Regions from separate parts of the Homo sapiens genome. Here all the other regions are linked to region 3. The links are contacts of gene promoters, found by promoter capture Hi-C in blood cells and fetal thymus (Javierre and others, 2016). All regions are on one chromosome and are shown on one strand. Each heading gives the region's core, a stretch centred on a gene start or on the middle of the fragment in contact. The rest is flanking DNA. Distances are from core to core; before and after follow the strand shown.

Region 1 (2,749 bases), core at 178-2,677, 400 kb before region 3:
GCTGGAGTGCAGTGGCGCGATCTTGGCTCACTGTAGCCTCTGCCTCCCGGGTTCAGGTGATTCTCATGCCTCAGCCACCAGAGCACCTGGGACTACAGGCATGTACCACCATGCACACTAATTTTTGTATTTTTAGTAGAGATGGGGTTTCTTCATGTTGGCCAGGCTGGTCTTGAACTCCTGAACTCAAGTGATCTGCCCACCTCGGCCTCCTAAAGTGCTGGGATTACAGGTATGAGCCACCACACCCAGCAGATCAATAATTTTATAGAGTAATTCATATTCTAATTATAGAATTGTAGATATGTACTAATGAAGAAGGTAAATGTTCTGATTCCTCTACATTTTTCAAATTAATGTGTTTTAAAGCGATTAAAAGTAAGTTTCTCTGTGTTTAGAATTTTTACTATATAGATACAAATTTCTGTGTTTTAGAAGAATTAAAACTATCAGTGCAGTCATAAACTAGTAGGTGAAAATTTAAAGACTATCATTTCAAAATTTGAAATTTGTCAGTGAATTATATGATACTTTGCTAAGAAGCCACTGAAAGATTCATATGACTGACTTAGCATTTCTCTATCACAAAATACTTGTTTTGTTTTGGTTTTTTTTTTTTTTTTTGAGACAGTCTCGCCCTGACATCCAGGCTGGAGTGCAGTGGCGCAATCTCGGCTCACTGCAGTCTCCGCCTCCTGGGTTCAAACGATTCTCCTGCCTCAGCCTCCCAAGTAGCTGGGATTATAGGCACCCGCCGCCACACTCAGCTACTTTTTTTTGTATGTTAGTAGAGGCGGGGTTTCACCATGTTGGCCAGGCTAGTCTTGAACTCCTGACCTCGTGATCCGCCCGCCTCAGCCTCCCAAAGTGCTGGGATTACAGGCATGAGCCACTGCATCCAGCCTAAAATACTTGTTTTTAAAGGAGATCACTGCCTTGTGTGAGAATTCTTTTAAATTTTTTAAAAACTGAAGTGTGTTTTAAATACAAATTCTGTCATGATTGTGTTCATGTGGTTCATGGTTTCCTAGTGTCTCCCATGAGATCCATAATGCCACTTTCTGTTTACATGTCTTGTTGTTTGGTTAGTAGTCATCAGAGACTAATCTATTAAATATGGAGCCCTCTCCATTTTTTTTCAAAATGACTGCATTTTAAGTTTCTTAAATTGTAAAGTAAGGTGGGTACAGTTTCTTCTAGTTCTTAGATGGTGCTGTCACGGGCCAGCATAATTGCTAAAACATCCATACGTATGGTAGACCTTAAGTCATGTGCTAATCATGAAAGCTGGGCTCACCCTGAATACCGGCAGTTGCCTGGTCTTTATAATGATTACTGAATGCATAACCAGTTACGCTTGCATGTGTTCATCATCATAACTTATTTTCTAATTATCTTAATTTTCAGAGGTTGGAGGTTTGCAATGTCCACTCAAGTTGCAATGCAAAACTCTGGCTCATATTCAATTTCTCAGTTTCAATCCAGAATGATCAGGTAAATCAACTGTTTTCTTTTTATACTTCGTTAAAAGGAAAGTGGGGAGGGGGGTGGTAATTTTTACAGGTTTAATGTAGTTAAATGAATGTACCTAAAGGTTGAAGATTTTTGTTTAGTTGCAGAAAATAGAGTTTAACGTCTGTGTTTAAGATAAATTTAATGTCTAAATGTATTTTATTTGCTGTATAACACTGAAAGCACTCATTAGAGAAATGTTGAGACTGAATTTTTTAATATGCTGATCTTTATTTTCTAACTTTCTGTGCTGATTAAATTTTATTATCTGTATTCATCAGAGCGTAGGCCATACAAATGAATTTAAAGACATTTTTCTTTGACATCCTAGACAAAAATAGAAAAGAGAGTCATTAAAAAAAATTTTTAGGTTGTGTGTGGTGGCTCACACCTGTAATCCCAGCGCTTTGGGAGGCCAAGGCGAGAGGACTGCTTGAGCCCAGGAGTTTGAGACCAGCCTGGGCAAAATGGTGAAACCCTGTCTCTACAAAAAATGCAAAAATTAGCCAGGTGTGGTGGCGTGTACACCTGTGGTCCCAGCTACTTGGTGGGATGAGGTGGGAAGATCGCTTGAGCCTGGGAGATTGAAGCTACAGTGAGTGCCACTGCACTCCAGCCTGGGTGACAGAGCAGAACCCCGTCTCAAGTAAAAAAAAAAAAACAAAACAAAAAAAGTTTAAAGAGAATGGTCTTTCTATCACAGGGTAAAAAAATTGATTATTTGAGGGAAAAAAAAAAGGATTTGTCTTGTAGCCAGGATATTGTTTTAAAGAAAATCCTTTTTGTTTTTCCAGGTGGACCAAACTACGAATTAACATGCTTCCTGCTACAATAATTTGTGAGCCAATTTCAGAATGCTTTGTTGCCAGTTTAATTATTGGATGGGCAGCCCACCATGTGTTCAGATGGGATATTATGGTATTTTTCATGTGTCATTGCCTGGCATGGTTTATATTTGACTACATTCAACTCAGGGGTGTCCAGGTATGTGGATAGGCATGAAAAGGTTGGCAGTCCCTTGGTGGAACTAGAACTATTTCAATTTAGAAAAAGTTGAAGGAAATGTATCTGAGCCATTCTTCAGCTTCCCATTGTAGGTTAGTCTCGGGTTTGAACATGACTTTCTCTAGTGGAATGTTGATGCAAAACTTAAGTCGATTTGCAACTTTCTATTGGTTATATAATCGCTTTTATTAAGTTTCCAAAAACATGAAGTTAATTAAATCAGTGAGTATTG
Region 2 (2,700 bases), core at 151-2,650, 450 kb before region 3:
TTAATGAATGGAGAAACAATATCCATAAAATGGAATATTATTTGGCTATAAAAAGAAATGAAGTACTGATATGTACTGTGACATGAATAAACCTTGAAAATATCATGCTGTGAAAGAAGGTAGTCATAAAAGTCTGCATAATATGTTAATTCTTTTTTTTTTTTTTTTTTTGAGACAGAGTTTCATTCTTGTTGCGCAGGCTGGAGTGCAATGGCGTGATCTTGGCTCACTGCAACCTCCGCCTCCTGGGTTCAATCAATTCTTCTGCCTCAGCCTCCCGAGTAGCTGGGATTACAGGCATGTGCCACCATGCCCGGCTAATTTTGTATTTTTACTAGAGATGGGGTTTCTCCATGTTGGTCAGGCTGGTCTCGAATTCCCAATCTCAGGTGATTCGCCTGCCTCGGCCTCCCAAAGTGCTGGGATTACAGGCATGAGCCACCGTGCCTGGCCCATCAATTCTATTTTTATGAAATAGTCAAGATAGGCAAATCTATATAGAAAAAAATTAAATTAGTAGTTACCAGGAGCTGGGGGGAGGGGAAATGGGGAATGACTGCTAATGGGTATGGAGTTTCTTTTTGCAGTGAGAAAATGTTCTAAAGTTGGGCAGTGATGGTTGCACAACTCTGTGAAGATACTAAAAATCACTGAGTGGTATGCTTTAAAGGAGTGAATGTTACGGTGTGTGACTATATCTTAATAAAGCTATTATTTAGAAAACGAACAAGCTGGAAGAGCTAACCGGGAATCTTTCATATTTAAGACTTCCTAGAAATTTTCCATTTTGGAAAAACTCAGTGTGGTGGCTATCGTGGTTATCTTTCCAATTCTATTCCTCCCCCATTCATTACATAGTCACCTTGCAGTTTGGATGGGATTATCCTTACTACCAGCTTCAATAAATTCTAATTTGACTATTCTAGTCTGCCTTGCCATAGCCTAACAAATGGTATTCAAGGGTAACCATTAGAAAAATGAAAAGGCTTAAGATTTTTGTTAGGTCACAACTAACACTTGCTCTCTCTTCCTGGATGTGAAGTACTGATAATTGTTGGCAGCTGTCTTACAACCATGAGCGAGGTCAGCTTAAAGACAAAACTGCTTTGGGAAGCAAAGTTTGGCACTTTGGGAAGCCAAGGCAGGTAGATCACTTGAGGTCAGGAGTTTGAGACCACCCTGGTGAACACGGTGAAACCCTGTATCTACTAAAAATACAAAAATTAGCTGGGTGTGGTGGCACACGCCTGTAATCCCAGCTACTCGAGGGGCTTGAAGCACGAGAATCACTGAACCCAGGAGGCAGAGGTTGCGGTGAGCCAAGATCTTGCCACTGCACTCCAGGCTGGAAGACAGAATGACACTCTCTCTCAAAAATAAATAAAATAAAATAAAGTAAAAGTAAAGTAAAGTAAAGTAAAATACTGACACATAGAGGAGGGGCGAGCCAAGACTATCTCAGAAAAATGGAGCAAGAACTCCATTTTTTAACTGTGCCTGACTCTTGTTTGCTTTATATAGGGTGTGACTCTGTGACTGCCTCAGTTTCTCCTAGCCTGATTGTTAATAGTGTCTCCTTTCTCAAACGAGTCCTGCTTTAGATGGTCATTCATACGTCATACTCCCCATAACTGGATTTTCAGTTACAGATCAATGAATTTATTAGTTAACCCAGGTCAACTGTTTCTCAAGGCCATCCAAGTTTTGTTTGTTTGTTTGTTTGTTTGAGATGGAGTCTAGCTCTGTCACCCAGGCTGGAGTGCAATGGCGCGATCTCGGCTCACTGCAACCTCCGCCTCCTGGGCTCAAGTGATTCTCCTGACTCAGCCTCCCGAGTAGCTGGGATTACAGGCTCTTGCCATTATGCCCAGCTAATTTTTGTATTTTTAGTAGAGACGGGTTTTTGCCCTGTTGGCCAGGCTGGTCTTGAACTCCCGGCCTTGAACTCCTGGCCTCAAGTGACCTGCCCCCTTCGGCCTCCCAAAATGCTGGGGTTATAGGTGCCCAGCTGCACTTTCCTCACTCTTGGCAATGTCTTAGTCTTTCTTCAGGACCCAGATGACCTTCTCCATGAAGTCTTTCTAGATTTTCTGGAATAAAAGTAATCACTCCCAACTCCCAATTTTTCTCATACCTCTATATCAACACTCATTGCATTACAATGATACATTTTTGCATTTCTCTTCCTCAGCTGAACTTGAACTTCTCCAGGGGGAAAAAAAGATTATGTTATTTTTCACTTTGTATCCAAAGCATGAGAACACTGTGTACCTGGAACATCACATATTTTATTGTATTATTATTTTATTATTTTGAGACAGAATCTCACTCTGTCGCCCAGGCTGGGGTGCAGTGGCGTGATCTCGGCTTACTGCAATCTCTGCCTCAGCCTCCCGAGTATCTGGGACTACAGGTGCAGGCTGTTTTGCATATTTTGTAGAGATGGAGTTTCACTATGTTGCTCACCCTGGTCTCTAATTCCTGGGCCCATGCAACCTGCCAGATTCAGCCTCCCAAAGTGCTGGGATTACACGCATGAGCCACCGTGCCCAACCTCATGTATACATGTGTGCACACATGCACGCACACGTATGTGCACACATGCACGCACACGTATGTGCACACATGCACGCATACGTATGTGCACACATGCACGTATACGTATGTGCATACATGTATGTATACGTATGTGCATATGTG
Region 3 (2,700 bases), core at 25-2,524:
ATGAAATCTAATGAGGTCAAAAGCTGTTGGAAGATTTCATCTTCAAATAGCATATCATCAACTGTATGGCAACATGTGAACGACTTTTACTGTTCTAGCAAGTTGCATATATTCCACAACCTCACAGAAATCTTGTCATCAAAAGTAGGTAACAAGCTAAAAAAAACCTCAAATACATAATGGGAATAAACCGAGTTGGAGATTTTTTTTTAATCCGTAGGTACAGATACTACAACCTTCAATTAATTCACCAAAATCCTAACATAGTTGTTACTTTAATTACCAAAATATGTCAAGTCCCACCCCATATCCCTGAGTCCCCAGAGAACAGTTTATATACATAGACTCTAAATCTTTTTATTTTGGTCACGGACCCCCATTAAATTTTTGAGCATTTGAAATGCCCCCGAAAATCGCTCGTACATCATATTTTACATACACGGGCAGATAATTCATTAAGTTTCTTGGGGAGAGAGAAAGGTGAGGGGGAAGCGTCCATGGTCACTAAGTCCAGACCCCTGGTGTCGAGAAAGCGTTAACGTATCTCACAGCACAAGTCGGGAGACCTCGGCCAAGTCCCGCGGCGGCCCTGGGACCCCGCGTGGGACCATGGCTTGCGACCAGGTCGCCGCCCAGACGTGTACCGACGCGTGCACCCGCCGTCGGCCGCTCGCCCCACCTCGCCGGTAAACAGCAACTCCCCCGGCAGGAGGACGCCCGCCCCGCGCGCCGCCTCCGCCTCCCCCAGCGCCGCGCACCATTTTCTGAGAGGAAGTGTCGGGAGGCCGAGCTGGGCTCCCCGGACTCGGGGCGCGGAGGGCGGACCTCGGCACCGCGGCCGGACCGGGCTTTCCTCTGCTCCCGGGTGTGTCGAGTAAGGCTAGGAAGCAGCGGACGTGTCCGGGGCGCCGCGTGGGGAAAGGAGAGCCTGCGGCGGACGGCAACTCCGCGATTCCGGGATCCCCACCGAGACGCCCGGAAGCCCCGCCGTCGGGCTTGGCCGGGGCCGCTCCTCCGGCCGCCGGCGCCGCGCACTGCTCCCCAGCCCTTACGCGTCCCGCGGAGAGCCGGGTGGAAGCGGCGCCAAGGCAACCCGGTGCGGCCGCCGCGCCGCCTAGTACTTACCCATCCATGGCCCAGATGGAGGCGCGCACAGAGCAGGGACTGACGGGCTAACCGCGAGCAGAGGAAGCAGGCGGCGGCAGCAGGGCGGTTCCGGGGACAAGCGAGCTTTGGCTCTGCGGAGCCCCGGCCGGTCCGAGGTGGAAGGAGAGTGGGAACAGGGGCGGGGACCGGGCACGCTCCCGCCACCGCCGCGCCCCCGCCTTCCCCACCCCGCGAGCGCGTCCCCGCCTAGCCCGACCCCGCCCCCTCACCGTCCCCGCCCTCCCTCGGGGCCCGCCCCTGCGCTCGCGCCCACCCTCGCCCCGCTGGCAGCCGGCCTCCGGCTCAGCTCTGGGGCGCCCTCTTCCCGCGGTCGCTGTAAGACCCCGCCTCTCGGCCCCTCGGCCCGGCGCGCGCGCGCGCCCCCAGCCTCCCTCCTGCGTTCGCGGGAGCGCGCGCCTTGTGCTTCCCGCTCCGCCGCGCACCCCGCCCGCCCTCCCGCGGCCCCGCGGGCCTTCCGGCTTCGCAGACCGGGCCTGCCAGGTTTGAATGCCTCCCTCTGCCGGCAGGAAAAGCTATGGGGACCTGACTCCCAAGAGTAGGAAGGAATGTCCCACAAGGACCCCAGAAACGAGGTGGAATTGCCCCGGGTGCGCGAGGCTGTAGATGACACGTCCAGGGACCAGCCTCTGGCAGCCCGGCGCTGGAGTCGACCGCTGGGACCGACACCAGCCCCATAGGTGTGGCTGGGACGATGAATGAGGTGAAAGAGGCTGCCCGGACTGGAATTTGTATACAATTTAAGTATCTGAGTGCATTTCGACCTAACCGTCTAGTATTGAATTTATATGAAAAATTCATTGTACAAACATGGAATGGCTATATTCCCAGCATTTTTTAAAAGTTTACTCATTATTCCCTTTTTTCAGATGAAAATACATATACAAAGAGAGTGATTTGCTCACAGTTTCACAACCAGGAAACGTTTGCACCAGAGCCCTTCCCTCTGGTCTGAGCAAAAAGTATATATATAATATAACGAGTGACAACACGCTTGCTTTTTTCCCTTTTTAGTGAGAAATTGAGTACTTTTTCAACTCACAGATCACCAAAATGTAACCCCCTAAACTGTTAAGCCAAATTCTTAACCTACTGAGTAAAAAAGAGCGGGGCTCCTCCCCGTGGCTTCGTCATTTGAAAAGCAACTAACAAGAACCTCAAACATCTATCCTTGCTAATTTCCTGCTTTCAGATCAGTAGGTGCTGCTAAAAAGATCTAAACTGTGGACTCATTCATCATTCAGTCAGTATTAACCTACTATGTGCCGGGCACTGCATGAATACACAAGAAAATCAGGTTCCAGCCGTCACTGTTGAATGGATTCTTCAGTCCGTTTATGTATATTTTTGACATACAACTTTTCAAATAGGTAGAGTAATTCGGTGAGGTAATTCTTAAAGTCCTGTATCTAACCTCAGTCCCCTTCCAAAATGTCAAATACATTTTGTTTTGTATATTAAATCTAAATATTAAGTTGCATTTGTAAACATTGCCAGATGGAAATGTAGAATATCAACAAGATAAGTAGCTGATGC
Region 4 (2,701 bases), core at 22-2,521, 460 kb after region 3:
TAATGTCTTCAAGATTAATTGCTGATGTTTTCTGATAAATACTTTTAAACATATTTAGGAACTTTTTTTTTTTTTTTTTTTTTTTTTTTTTGAGACGGAGCCTTGCTCTGTCGCCAGGCTGGAGTGCAGTGGCGCAATTGCGCTGCTCACTGCAACCTCCGCCTCCTGGGTTCAAGCGATTCTCCTGCCTCAGTCTCCCAAGTAGCTGAGACTACAGGTGTGTGCCACCACGCCCAGCTAATTTTTGTATTTTTAGTAGAGATGGGGTTTCACCATGTTGGCCAGGCTGGTTTCAATCTTTGACCTCGTGATCCACCCGCCTTGGCCTCTCAAAGTACTGGGATTACAGGCATGAGCCACTGCACCTGGCCGGGAACTTTCTTTTTACTTCTTAATTTTACTTAGAGATTTAAATGGAATGGCTGATATGAGTGATGCCAGTAAATATTTTGGTAGTTTTGGACATGAGTATCTTCAACAGTGGTTGAAGTAATGTATATTAATGTAATATAGTGTAATGAAGTAATGTTATTAATGTAATAAATTGTATTGATAAATTTCCTAATGTTAAATCATTCTTGCTTCCCTGGAATACATTTGACTTGATCCTGGTATATATTTTTTTTCCAAAAATTCTTTTAGTGTACTGTTAGTTGTTACTTTATTAATGATGTTTATGCTTGTTCTCAGTTTTCTTTTTTGTCCTAATATTTTGATACCGGATATAGATAGTCATCATGAAATGATTTGAAAGGTTTCTGCATTTTAAAATTATGTCTTAGAATATTTGAATAAAGTAGGACTTACTCTTTGAAGGTTCATGAGTGCTCACTGTGAAACACTTGGGACCCAGCTTACCTCTTCGTGGATGTTCTCTGACAACAGTTTTGTGGTTATTTATCTGTTTAGGTTTTTTCTCTCTATTTAATTTCACCTTGATCACATAATTTTTCCTAGAAAGCCAGCTAGCTCATATAGATGTCCAAATTTGTTGGCATAGTTATTCACAGCACAACCTTTTAATTTACAATCATACATAGACACAAGTTCTAAATAGTTATTGCCTGTTCCCTTTTTCCATTTTCCTCTTTTTTTATTTTTTATTGAGACAGCATCTCTCTCCGTCGCCCAGCCTGGAGTACAATGGTGCGATCTCTGCTCACTGCAACCTCTGCCTCCTAGGTTCAAGCAATTCTCATGCCTCAGCCTCCTGAGTAGCTGTGACTACAGGCTTGAGCCACCACGCCTGGCTAACTTTTTGTATTTTTACTAGAGACAGGGTTTCCCCATGCTGCTCAGGCTGGTCTTGAGCTCCTGGGCTCAAGCAATCCACCTGCCTCGGTCTCCCAAAGTGCTGGGATTATAGGTTTGAGGCCACTACACCTGGGCCATTTTCCTTTTTCTATATTGTTCAGATTTCCTAAGTTTTAGTTTATCTGATTCATCTTTCAGAAGAATTAAATTTTGCTTTTGTTTATAACTTTTGTTCTTTTCTGTTTTAATTTATGCTTTCATTTTTAGATTCTCTTTCCACTTTCTTTAGGCTTTTTTTTTTCTTTTTCTTTTAATGGGAACACAGAGTAAGTCTGGCCTAAAGGGTTCTGTTTTATGGGCTTCATCTTTTTCAAATGCATGTTTATCTGTTATTGAGGACTCTTGCTTTTTTTGTGTTTTGGTTTTCTTAGGTCTGAGTGATGAGCTAATGCCATTTTGAGTTGTTTTTATGGTTTACTTGCCTCTGATGAGATAATAATTCAGACCTGCTATTTGCCCCCATCAGAACAAGTGGATTATATTGGATCCTCTGTGTTTCTACTTGATGTTGTTAGCATTGTCTTAGATCCATAGATTACTAGTTATCTGTCAGATGGGAAAGAAGCCTGGCTTTCTCTGTGTTTTAGCTGCTCCCCCCATCTCAGTAGAGCTCAGTCCCCCCAGCATTTGCAGTCTGGCCTGCTTTGGGCTTGTTGGACACACCCCAGGGCAGCCAACCCAGATGCCTTCATGTTCCTATGAGCTGCTGCTTCCATCTCTACCCATCATGCGGGGGGAGAAGGCCATGTGGGCGGGGTGCCCTCTGCTGGTGGCCCACACTTGGTGTATTTGCCTGTGCTTGGCATCCCCTTGGTCACAGTCACAGCAGCCAACTCCTTGGTGGTCCTGGATTGCCCCACTGCCAAACCTTCCATGTCCTCTACTCCCCACTGACAATCACACTTTCAAATTAGCGTGCGTGTAAAGGGGGTTCAAGGACATTTTCTACTTATTAAGTAACCTCAATAACCTGAAGTAACTTCGGTGACATGGGTTAGATTCCTCTGGGTTCTTTTTTCAGTTGTGGCCCAGGTAGAACCAGTAGACAGCCTTTGAGACCTTTGGCATTTGGATGGCACCCTTTCCTCATTTCCAGTATTGATATGACTCCAGTCACTGTTTTTCTTGTTCTTTTTACCTCCACTGTTTTTTGTTTTTTTTTTTTTCTTTCATTCTCTAGGTTAAATTAGTATCTGGAGGGTGGAAAAAGGGAGAACGCAGAGGCTTGTGTTCAACTCACTGAGTTTATCTAGAGGTCTAGCTTTCTAATTTTTTAAACAAGTGTGTCACATTACACATACAAACATGACCGCTTCCTGGTTATTGAGCCTTTGGGATTTTTCTAGGTTTCACTCTGTGTTCTTTGTATCATGAACATCTTTGAACA

What was found. The method cuts DNA at HindIII sites, captures the fragments that hold promoters and counts their contacts. A CHiCAGO score of 5 or more calls a contact.
Region 1: a fragment that was not itself captured here is called in contact with the fragment with the promoter of PTBP3 in region 3 in 1 of 17 cell types (non-activated CD4 T cells); the score reaches 5.3 in non-activated CD4 T cells.
Region 2: a fragment that was not itself captured here is called in contact with the fragment with the promoter of PTBP3 in region 3 in 2 of 17 cell types (neutrophils and fetal thymus); the score reaches 5.9 in neutrophils.
Region 4: a fragment that was not itself captured here is called in contact with the fragment with the promoter of PTBP3 in region 3 in 1 of 17 cell types (fetal thymus); the score reaches 5.8 in fetal thymus.

Annotation. Positions count from the first base shown.
Region 1 is chr9:111,929,864-111,932,612 of GRCh38, forward strand. It overlaps UGCG (UDP-glucose ceramide glucosyltransferase), which reads left to right. Exons shown (of 9, transcript NM_003358.3): 7 at 1,408-1,494; 8 at 2,307-2,496. MIR4668 (microRNA 4668) reads left to right here and starts at 2,237; the gene lies at 2,237-2,306. The HindIII fragment of the contact is 6,784 bases long and covers 1-2,749 here.
Region 2 is chr9:111,884,779-111,887,478 of GRCh38, forward strand. No RefSeq gene overlaps it. Among named protein-coding and RNA genes, the nearest start is that of UGCG, 11 kb to the right of the region's middle. RefSeq lists an enhancer at 1,519-2,347. The HindIII fragment of the contact is 9,210 bases long and covers 1-2,700 here.
Region 3 is chr9:112,332,345-112,335,044 of GRCh38, forward strand. PTBP3 (polypyrimidine tract binding protein 3) reads right to left here and starts at 1,275. Exons shown (of 14, transcript NM_001163788.4): 1 at 1,126-1,275. RefSeq lists silencers at 640-1,129, 1,280-1,599 and an enhancer at 1,349-2,319. The HindIII fragment of the contact is 11,957 bases long and covers 1-2,700 here.
Region 4 is chr9:112,791,338-112,794,038 of GRCh38, forward strand. All of the region lies in intron 1 of SNX30 (sorting nexin family member 30), which reads left to right. Among named protein-coding and RNA genes, the nearest start is that of SNX30, 42 kb to the left of the region's middle. The HindIII fragment of the contact is 5,421 bases long and covers 1-2,701 here.